Linked DNA regions of Homo sapiens: region 2 is linked to region 1. Evidence: promoter capture Hi-C in human tissues and cell types (Jung and others, 2019). All regions are on one chromosome and are shown on one strand. The core of a region is centred on a gene start or on the middle of the fragment in contact, and the rest is flanking DNA. Distances in the headings are between cores, read along the strand shown. Region 1 holds the start of APOBEC3C (apolipoprotein B mRNA editing enzyme catalytic subunit 3C). Region 2 overlaps LOC105373032 (a long non-coding RNA gene).

Region 1 (5,496 bases), core at 1,147-3,646:
ACTTTATACAAACATCTCAGTGCAGTAAAGAGCAGTATTGCCGCCAGCATGTCTCACCTCCAGCCATAAGGCGGTCTTCTCCTATGTCAGTAAATAGAATGTATGATCGGGTTTTACACCAAGACATTCCATTCCCAGGGATGAGCAGGAGACAGATGCCTTCCTCCTATCTCAACTGCAAAGAGGCTTTCCTCCTTCACCAATCCTCCTCAGCACAGACCCTTTACGGGTGTCGGGCTGGGGGACGGTCAGGTCTTTCCCTTCCCATGAGGCCATATCTCAGGCTGTCTCAGTGGGGGGAAACCTGGACAATACCCAGGCTTTCTTGGGCAGAGGTCCCTGCGGCCTTCCGCAGTGCACTGTGTCTCTGGGTACTCGAGACTGGAGAATGGCGATGACTTTTACCAAGCTTATTGCCTGCAAACACATTTTTACCAAGGCACATCCTGCACAGCCCTAAATCCATTAAACCTTGAGTCAATATAGCACATGTTTCTGCGAGCACAGGGTTGGGGCTAGGGTTACAGATTCACAGCATCTCAAGGCAGAAGAGTTTTTCTTAGTACAGATCACAATGGAGTTTCTTATGTCTTCCTCTTTCTACATAGACACAATAACAGTCTCATCTCTCTTTCTTTCCCCCACAAGAACAAACTCCCCTTAAAGGAATCTATTTAGGAAGATTATTTCAAGGATACAATGTACATTCATTCCTCCAAAATATGCTTAGATGAACTTAAATAATCAGAAAGTTGTGTGTGTATGTGTTTCACATTTTCTTGGTCCACACGGAACCCCTTGAGAGGTCCCTGTGGGCCGTGAGCCTGTTTGTAGACACTTGCTTCCACCGCTTGATGTCGCAGACATCGCAGTCCCTGATGTAGGGTCTGGCCCTATGGGGCTTAGTGGGTGTTCTCCCCGTGTGTGGAGATGAGAAATCGTAAAAAGTAAAGACACAAGACAAAGAGATAAAGCGAAAACAGCTGGGCCCGGGGGACCACTACCATCAAGACACGGAGATGGGTAGTGGCCCCAAATGGTTGCGTGCACTGTTATTTATTGCATACAAGACAAGGGGGGCAGGGTAAGGAGGGTGAGTCGTCCAAGTGATTGATAAGGTCGAGCAAGTCACGTGATCATAGGACAGGGGGCCCTTCCCTTATAGGTAGCCGAAGCAGAGAGGGAAGGCAGTATACGTCAGCGTTTTCTTCTATGCACCTATCAGAAAGATCAAAGACTTTAAGACTTTCACTATTTCTTCTACCGCTATCTTCTGAGAACTTCAAAGAGGGACCAGGAGTACAGGAGGAAAGTGGACAAGGAGCGTGACCATTGAAGCACAGCATCACAGGGAGGGGTTTAGGCCTCCGGATGGCTGCAGGCAGGCCTGGATACTATCCAGCCTCCCACAAGAAGCTGGTGGAGCTGAGCGTTCCCTGACTCCTCCAAGAAAAGGGAGACTCCCTTTCGTGGTCCGCTAAGTAACGATGCCTTCCTAGGCACTGGCGTTACCGCCTGACCAAGGAGCCCTCCAGTAGCCCTTATGCGGGTGTGACAGAGGGCTCACCTCTTGCATTCTCGGTCACTTCTCACAACAGCCCTTCAGCACCTGACCCTATACCCACCGGTTATTTCTTGGTTATATTAGTAATACAATAAAGAGTAATATTAAAAGCTAATGATTAATAATATCTACACTAATGATTGATAATGTCCATGATCATCTCTGTATCTAATTTGTATTATAACTATTCTTATTGTAAGTATATTCTTTATTATACTGAAACAGTTTGTGCCTTCAGTCTCTTGCCTCAGCACCTAGGTAATCCTCCGCCCACATCTCTGAGGGGCTGAACTGCCCCCCACCTTCTGGAAGCTGGGAGGTTGGAAGAGGGGATGCGTGCGATGGACTCAGCACACAGCTGGGAACTCGAGGCACACCTAAGCCTTCGCTTGTGCTGTGCGGAGTCCACACTTCCTTCCCCACTGGGGTCTCAAAACCTCCCCTCACTCAACAGGGTGGTGCTGCTCAAAGCTCTGGGCACACATTAGGGCTGGGGAGGGGGTGGTGGAGAGGGGGCTCCAGCCTGCCCAACCACCAGGCAACGGGGCACCTGCCCCTCTCTCAGCTGGGTCTGGACCCGCGTCCCAGGCTCAGGCTGCAATGCCTTTCTCTTTCTCTTTCTCTTCTTTTTGCAGTTCCGTTGGGTCCTGCCCAGGACAGATAAAGACAGAGCAGCCTGTCTTTATCGGAGGTTCCTCTGCCAGTAGGAGGGGCCCGGAGAAAACCAGAAAGAGGGCCAGAGCCAGAGAAACATGAAGCACCCCGGGGCCTCCCACACCAGTGCCTGAGCAGGAATGGGGAGGGGCCATGATTCACAAGGCCCTGGGAGGTCACTTTAAAGAGGGCTGCTCAACTGCAAGGACGCTGTAAGCAGGAAGAGAAGCCACAGCGCTTCAGAAAAGAGTGGGACAGGGACAAGCATATCTAAGAGGCTGAACATGAATCCACAGATCAGGTACCTCTGCACGCTTTGTCCGCCAGGCCCCTCCTGCCACTTCCTGCCAGGCGGTCCTGCTGGGCCTCAGCCCTGGCCTCCCCCTGCCCCAGCCCCACCTCTGGGCTCCCTCCCCCCTGGTTCCCCCGCTGCCCCCACTCCCAGCCAAGCTCCTTGCCCTGCTGTGTGGTCCCACGACTGCTGCTTCTGAATGGGCCACCTTCCCCACTTGCCCCAGCCCAGTCCGCCTGCTGAGACTCTCCCCCGAAAATCATGCCCGGGCTGGTGCTTCCCGCCCTGGGAGGGTGCTTCCTCTGTGTGCTTCCCACTATTCCTGGGAGCTCTGGAACTGGGAGAATTGAACCAAAGGATGATTTGAGCAATCAGGCATTTTGTTCTCAGCGCTTTGGTGCAATTTCTGTAAGATTTACTTTGTTTCAATACAAAGTCTTAGGAGAGGGTGTGGGGGAGGGAATGGTCTCTGTACCAGAAAATAAGTCACTTCTTCCAAAGATGCCTCCACTGTGAGCAGAGTAGGATGCACACGACCCCAGACACAGGCTCCTCCTCTGTGAGCACCGTTCACCTTTCAGAATGACACCTGCAACATGGAGTGTAGGAAAAAATATGATGATCAGGAGAAATGCTCTTATTTTAGGCCAGGCACGGTGGCTTATGCCTGTAATCCTAGCACTTTGGGAGGCTGAGGCGGGCGGGTCACTTGTGGTCAGGAGTTTGAGACCAGCCTGACTAACATGGTGAAACCTCGTCTCTACTGAAAATACAGAAAATTAGCCAGGGGTGCTGGCGGGCGTCTGTAATCCCAGCTACTTGGGAGGCTGAGGCAGGAGAATCCCTTGAACCCGAGGGGTGGAGGTTGCAGTGAGCTGAGATTGCAAACTCCAGCCTGGGGGACAGAGCGAGATGCCGTCTTTAAAAAAAAAAAAAAAAAAGTAGCAGAAAAACTGGGAGGTTGAGGGTGTTCCATTGGTAGCCCCAGAGCTGGGGTTCCAGCTAGGAGAGGTCACCCCGGCCCTGCTGCCCCTGCCAGCGTCCCCTCCTCTTTCTCTCTCCCCGTCTTCCTGCCTGGGAAAGCAGCAGACATTCTCAGGGCTGTGGAGGGATGGGGGAGGCCCAGAGCCCAGGGACGTCCAGGCAGCTGTGTTCAGTGGGCATCAGCCCTGAGGACTCCGGTGCGGGGGTCTCTGCATTGGGGTTTCTCTCTTGTGCCTTCAGAAACCCGATGAAGGCAATGTATCCAGGCACATTCTACTTCCAATTTAAAAACCTATGGGAAGCCAACGATCGGAACGAAACTTGGCTGTGCTTCACCGTGGAAGGTATAAAGCGCCGCTCAGTTGTCTCCTGGAAGACGGGCGTCTTCCGAAACCAGGTAGCACCAAAGTCCTAGTTACACCCTAAATAGGAGCTAAGCAGCTGGGAATGCAGAAAACGCAACAATAAGTGATGTGCCCGGCGTGGGCTCTCCTGTGTGCACTTTCCTGCCACATTTCTATTTTTTTTTTTTTTTTTTTGAGATGGAGTCTCGCTCTGTCACCCAGGCTGGAATGCAGTGGTCTGATTTCAGCTCACGGCAACCTCTGCTTTCCAGGTTCACGCGATTCTCCTGCCTCAGTCTCCCGAGTAGCTGGGATTACAGGCACCTGCCACCATGCCCAGCCAATTCTTTTGTATTTTTAGTAGAAACAGGATTTTGCCATGTTGGCCAGGCTGGTTTCGAACTCCTGACCTCAAGTGATCCACCAGCCTTGGCCTCCCAAAGTGCTAGGATTACATGCGTGAGACACCATGCCCCTGGCCTCCTCCCCACATTATTTATTTATTTATTTATTTATTTTGAGACGGAGTCTTGCTCTATCGCCCAGGCTGGAGTGCAGTGGCACAATCTCAGCTCACTGCAAGCTCCGCCTCCCGGGTTCACGCCATTCTCCTGCCTCAGCCTCCCAAGTAGCTGGGACTACAGGCGCCCACCACCATGCCCAGCTAATTTTTTCTTTTTTTCTTTTTTTTTTTTTTTTTAGTAGAGACGGGGTTTCATGGTGTTAGCCAAGATGGTCTCGATCTCCTGACCTCATGATCCGCCCGCCTTGGCCTCCCAAAGTGCTGGGATTACAGGCATGAGCCACTGTGCCCGGCCTCCCCACATTTTTTAAGTCCATGGCCCAGATCTTCCTCCCTGACTCTCCTGTGATCAGATCGTGGAGGGGGTTTGCTTCCTCCCAAAAGGCCTTGTTTAGCGCCCAGCACCCTCACTCTTGACTTTGTTTCCCAAAATCTTGTTATGGAGCTGTGCGTCCGGCAGTCCTCGGGAATCAGCAGCTGTGGGAAGCGGGGGGTGTTGTGTCCAGCGCTGTGTCTGGGCCAGTGACTGCGGGCTGGTGGGGCCGCCCCCGCCACTGCCCTGATTCCTCAGCAGAAGGCAGGCAGGGAACAAAGCTGACCCCAGAGAGCCAGGCCATAGCAGGGGCTGAGGATGCCTGGTGAATGGATGCCTGGGAGAAAAGATGGCAGAATTCACACATGAGTCTATGAGACAGGGAAAGAATCAATAAAATAAAGAAGGAAGGGGCCGGGCACGGCGCGGTGGCTCATGCCTGTAATCCCAGCACTTTGGGAGGCTGAGGCAGGCGGATCATGAGGTTGGGAGTTCGAGACCAGCCTGGCTAACATGATGAAACCCAGTCTCTACTAAAAATACAAAGATTAGCCAGGTGTGGGGGTGCATGCCTGTAGTCCCAGCTACTCAGGAGGCTGAGGCAGGAGAATTGCTTGAACCTGGGAGGCAGAGGTTGCAGTGAGCCGAGATTGTGCCACTGCACTCCAGCCTTGGCGACAGAGCAAGACTCCATCTTTGAAAAAAATAAAAATAAAAGAATAAAGAGAGAAGGAGAAGGATAGAAGAAGGGAAACTCAATGAATAAAACACCCTGGGGCCTACTATGTAGCCAGAAAAATGAAAAGTAAAGAAATAAAATAA
Region 2 (5,411 bases), core at 2,251-4,750, 120 kb before region 1:
GGTATATACTGCTGACTTTGACCCATCAAATCCAGCCATGGATTCTCTGCAAACTGAGGGGCCACCCAGCTCCCTGAACAGTGGTCTTATTCTGCTGGGTCCTTGTGAGGGCGTAGCATAGCCTCACATCCTAAATTAAAGTCAGTTCACCGGCTGCTGCTCGGGTAACTGGCGAGAGAAAAGAGCCTTTGCCTCTCCGCAGCCGGGGAATTTCCAAATCCTGAAATTGTCCTGTCCAGACACAGTAAATAGTTTGGCCACAACAATCTCTGCATCCACCTCCCTCCCATCTGTCTGGGCTGGGCATGCCCGTAATGTTTTTCATTCTGTGACAGGCTTGAGCATCCTTTTCTTAAAGGAGACAAAGGAGATAAAAGGGCCTGGGCTCAGAATTTTGCAAGCAGAACACACGGAGGTTGTGCCAAGACAGAGATGGTGGCTCGATGGCCAGCTAATTCTTGTTTATCCAACAAGCCATGCTAGTTGCTGGGGAGACCCAGAGAAATGAGACACAGTCCCTGTTCATGGGGGTTAGCTGTGTAGTAGAGTTGATAGACCCATGGGGCCATGGAGCGGGTGTTGGGGATGGGGCAGAGGCTACTCCATTATCACAGACTTCAGAGTGTCTTTCCAGCAAGACTAGCCACACAGTCTGCCTTTAAAGTCCCCTGGTAAGTCACTCAAAATGATATTTTCAAGTGCCTAGCATTTACATCTTCTGGGTGTTGGGGATTGACATCTGTTATCACAGGCAATGGCGCTTTTATTATCATTGGAACAGGTGGATGGGGATGTCAGCCCTCCTCTGGCAGGACCAAAGCACTGGCCATCTGCAAAGGGAGGACATTTGGGTGTCCTCGGACTTGGGCAAAGGTGCACCCTAGGCTTTAGAGAGCCCAAACCAATTTTCCTCCAAATGTCCTCTATACCTGGTTTTTCTAGGTTAGGGTTCAGGACCCAATCTGCTTACATCCACAAATCTCTTTTAATTTAGAACAGCCTCTATTTTCATACCGTGAATTGAAGGAATTAAGCTACTGTCCGATAGAATATTCTGCCTTCTAGATTTCACTGATTGGTTTCTTACTGTGAGTTTGGATAGTTCTGTCTTGTCTAACATACCTCACTGAGTAATTCAGAAGGAGAAAGCAGAAAAAAACAAAAGTCAGTGAGCATAGAAAAGATGAGAGATGAGAATTATGGAATTACAAATTTTACTTAATGGGAATTTCCAGAACATTTCACCAAGTAACTGCAGACATTACATTACTTTCAAGCACGTCTGGAATATTTATGAAAATTGACCATTTATCTTGCCAAAAAGCAATCTTTTGTTAATGCCAAAAGGATGGATTGAACAAACAATATTTTCTGACCACCATGTACTTCAATAAGAAATAAATAACAAAAAAGCATAGAAATAGGAAAAACCTTTAAATAATTCATGGGTAAAAAAAGAAAGCATAACAGGTTTTAGAATATGCTTAGAAGCGAACAATAATGAAAATTCCACGTATCAGAACATATGAGAGGCTTATGATATAGGAGAAAAAGGCTGAAAATCAATAAGCCAAACATTTAACATGAGAAGTTACCAAGAGAACAGCTGAGTAAATCCTAAACAGTAGAAAAAAGAAAATTTACAGGTAAGAGCAGAAATAAATGAAACAGAGAGCAATCATAAAATTGACATGACGAACAAAGCCAAATTTTGTTTTTTTGAAAAAACTAATAAAACTGGCAAACCTTTGGCAAGACTAATTAGGAAATAGAGATGGGACCCATAAAGTATAGCAGAATTGAAAGGAAATTGGCTGGGCGCCGTGGCTCACGCCCGTAATCCCGACACTTTGGGAGGCCGAGGCAGGCAGATCACCTGAGGTCGAGAGTTCAAGACCAGCCTGACCAACATGGAGAAACCCTGTCTCTCCTAAAAATACAAAATTAGCCGGGCGTGGTGGTGCATGCCTGTAATCCCAGGTACTTGGGAGGCTGAGGCAGGAGAATCGCTTGAACCTGGGAGACGGAGGTTGCAGTGAGCCGAGATTGCACCATTGTACTCCAGCCAGGGCAACAAGAGCAAAACTCCGTCTCAAAAAAATTAAATAAAAATAAAGAAAGGAAACATGACTTCGATGAAGAATCAATTTTAAAAATGTAAAAATATGATGCAACTTTATGCCAATAATTTTGAAAATGTAAATCAAGTTGCACAAATTTTACATTTAAGACATTTTAAATGTAAACGATGTTTTAACCATTTAAAAAATTGAATTGGTGACTAAAAATCTTCATATCAAAGAAACAGCAGGACTAGACTTTTTTTTTTAAACAGAAGGGTTTTACCAAACATTTAAGGAATGAATACTTTCAAATACAAACTATTCCAGCAAGTAGAAAAATTACCAATACTTGCTAATAATTTTTACAAAGTTGGCTTAATCTGCTTGTTATCCCAACCAAAGACTGTTTGAGGAAGGAAAATATAGAACAATCTTTTCCATAAACAAAACATCAGTAAACTGAATCCAAGATAATACATCATGACCAAATTGGATTAGAGTACACTAGAATAGATTAGAAAAGTAAGTACGTAATTTTTCACATTAACAGATAGAAGGAGAAAAACCATAGGATCATTTCAATAAATGCAGAACAGGTGTTTGCTGAAATTCAACCTCTATTTATGATTAAAAAACTAAACAAATTAAGAATATAAAGAAACGCTTTTAAACTAATACAGGATGTCTTTTTGTTATTTATTTGTTTATTTTATGAGATGGAGTCTCGCTCTGTCACCCAGGCTGGAGTGCAGTGGTGCAATCTTGGCTCACTGCAACCTCTGCCTCCTGAGTTCAAGCGATTCTCCTGCCTCAACCTCCTGAGTAGCTGGGAATTACAGGCGTGCGCCCCTACGCCCAGCTAACTTTTGTATTTTTAATAGAGACAGCGTTTCACCATGTTGCCTAGGCTGGTCTTGAACTCCTGACCTCTGGTGATCCGCCTGCTTGTCCTCCCAGAGTGCTGCGATTACAGGCATGAGCTACCACGCTCAGCCATAAAAGATGTATTTTTTTAAAAATTCCCCACAGTGAAGACTTTAGTAAATATTAAAATGTTAAGATCAGTAACAAGCCAAGGAAACTTACTCTCACCATTCTATTAAACATTAAAGTATAGTAGGGCCAGGAAAAATGAATGAAGGATACAACATTGGGACAGAAGACACAAAACTGCCATAACTTCCAGATAATATGATTACTCTCTCTCATTGTGGAACTGCCTGGAACAGTGCCTGGTGTGCAGTAGGCACTCGAAAAATATTTGTTGATCATTATGTTGTGACTTACTTTATCTCAAGTTATTTTATTTATTTATTTTTTGCCTTGAAGCCTTCTGTTTCTTCCCCCCTCTGAATACTGAAAGATGTATATGTGCTTTTTTTTCTTCTTTTTTTGGAGACGAAGTTTCTCTCTTGTCGCCCAGGCTGGAGTGCAAGATCACTGCAACTTCTGCCTCCCGGGTTCAAGCAATTCTCCTGCCTCAGCCACCCGAGTAGCTGGGACTACAGGCATGCACCACCACGCCCAGGTATTTTTTGTATTTTTAGTTGAGACGGGGTTTCACTACGTTGGCCGGGTTGGTCTCAAACTCCTGACCTCAGGCAATCTGCCCAACTTGGCCTCCCAAAGTGCTGGGATTACAGGCATGAGCCACTGTGCCCGGCTGATCCTGGACTTTTGTTGTTGGGAAGCATTTTAGTACAGGTGCAATCTCTTTACTTGTAAGATTTATGTGCAGATTTTTTATTTCTTTTCAAACCAGTTTTGGTAATTTGTGTGTTTCTAGGAATTTGTACATTTCATCTCGGTTACCTAATTTGTTGGTGTACTATTCTCCCATAATCCTTTTTATTTCCGTAAGGTTGGTAGTAGTGTCCCCGCTTTCATTTGCGGTTTTAGTTTTTGGCATTTTTTCTTTTTTCCTTAGTCTAGCTAAAGCTTTGTTAATTTTGTTGATTTTTTTTTTCAAATATCAACTTTTGATTTTGTTGATTTTCTCTGTTGTTTTTCTACTCTCTGTCTCATTTTTCTCCATGTTAATCTTTTATTTTTATTATTTCCTTCTTTCTGCTAGCTTTCTGTTTAATTTGCTCTTCTTTTTCTAATTCCTTAAGGTATAAAATTAGGTTATTGATTTGAAATCTTTCTTTTTTGATGTAGGCATTTAGTGTTAGAAATTTCCCTTTGAGCATCACATTTGCAGCATGCCATTAAATCCTTGCCTTTTAACAGGAAAGTTTAATTAATTCAAATTTATTATGATTACCTATATATGAATTTATGACTACATCTTATTGTCTCATTTATTTTTTTTCCTGTTGTTTATAACTTGCTCTTTTTTGGACTGTTTTGAATAGATGAAGATTTTTCTCTTATTTCTGTTTTTCCACTTTGTTGGTTTGGAAGTTTTATATTCTGTTTTTATTCTCTCAATGACTACCCTGCAATTTATCATATACATTGCAGCCTTGAACTCCTGGGCTCAAGTGATCCTCCTGCCTTGGCCTCCCAAAGTGTTGGGACTAAAGGCATGAGCCACTGCATCTGGACTATCATATACATTCTAATGTTAACCAATCTCTTTTCTCTATTTTATCTTACCTGTAACAGAAATTTTACGTTTATTTTGCTTCCTTTGCAAACTTTATATTATGGAAAATTTCACATCTATACACAAGTAAAAAACAATATAGTGATATGGGTGCAGTGGCTCACACCTGTAATCTCAGCACTTTGGAAGGCCAAGGTGGGTGGATCACAAGGTCCAGAGATGGAGACCATCCTGGCAAACATGGTGAAACCCTGTCTCTACTAAAAATTTAAAAAATTAGCTGGGTGTGGTGGCGCGTGCCTGTAATCCCAGCTACTCGGGAGGCTGAGGCAGTAGAATTGCTTGAACCCAGGGGGCGGAGGTTGCAGTGAGCCAAGATCATACCACTGCACTCCAGCCTGGTGACAGAGTGAGACTTTGTCTCAAAAAAACATATGTGTGTATATATATAATATATGATATATATTATATATATAATTATATGTAATATTATATATAATACATATATATAATACATATATAATATATATAGTGAACACCCATGTACCAATTATGTCTCCAACAATTATCAATATTTTGCCAATTTTGTTTCATCTATTTCCTTATTTTTCTTTTTTTGTTTTCTATATTATTTTAAAGTAGATCTCAGATATCATGTCATTTCACCTGTAAATACTTCATTATGCATCTTTAACTCAGACATTTTGTTTTTATATAACCACTGTCTAATAATTACATTGTTTCTATCATTCAATATTCAGTTCATATACAAATTTTTCTGTTTCAAAAGCATCTTT

The links. Contacts are between HindIII fragments. The study calls those that stand out against the background at their distance.
Region 2: a fragment that was not itself captured here is called in contact with the fragment with the promoter of APOBEC3C in region 1 in 2 of the 25 tissues and cell types used here (aorta and pancreas).

Annotation. Positions count from the first base shown.
Region 1 is chr22:39,011,861-39,017,356 of GRCh38, forward strand. APOBEC3C (apolipoprotein B mRNA editing enzyme catalytic subunit 3C) reads left to right here and starts at 2,397. Exons shown (of 4, transcript NM_014508.3): 1 at 2,397-2,519; 2 at 3,735-3,891. The coding sequence starts at 2,503. RefSeq lists enhancers at 1,609-2,227, 2,204-2,498, 2,228-2,845, 2,418-2,527 and a silencer at 2,638-2,687. The HindIII fragment of the contact is 14,453 bases long and covers 1-5,496 here.
Region 2 is chr22:38,891,153-38,896,563 of GRCh38, forward strand. All of the region lies in intron 1 of LOC105373032 (a long non-coding RNA gene), which reads left to right. Among named protein-coding and RNA genes, the nearest start is that of CBX6, 22 kb to the left of the region's middle. RefSeq lists enhancers at 113-282, 3,253-3,422. The HindIII fragment of the contact is 6,036 bases long and covers 483-5,411 here.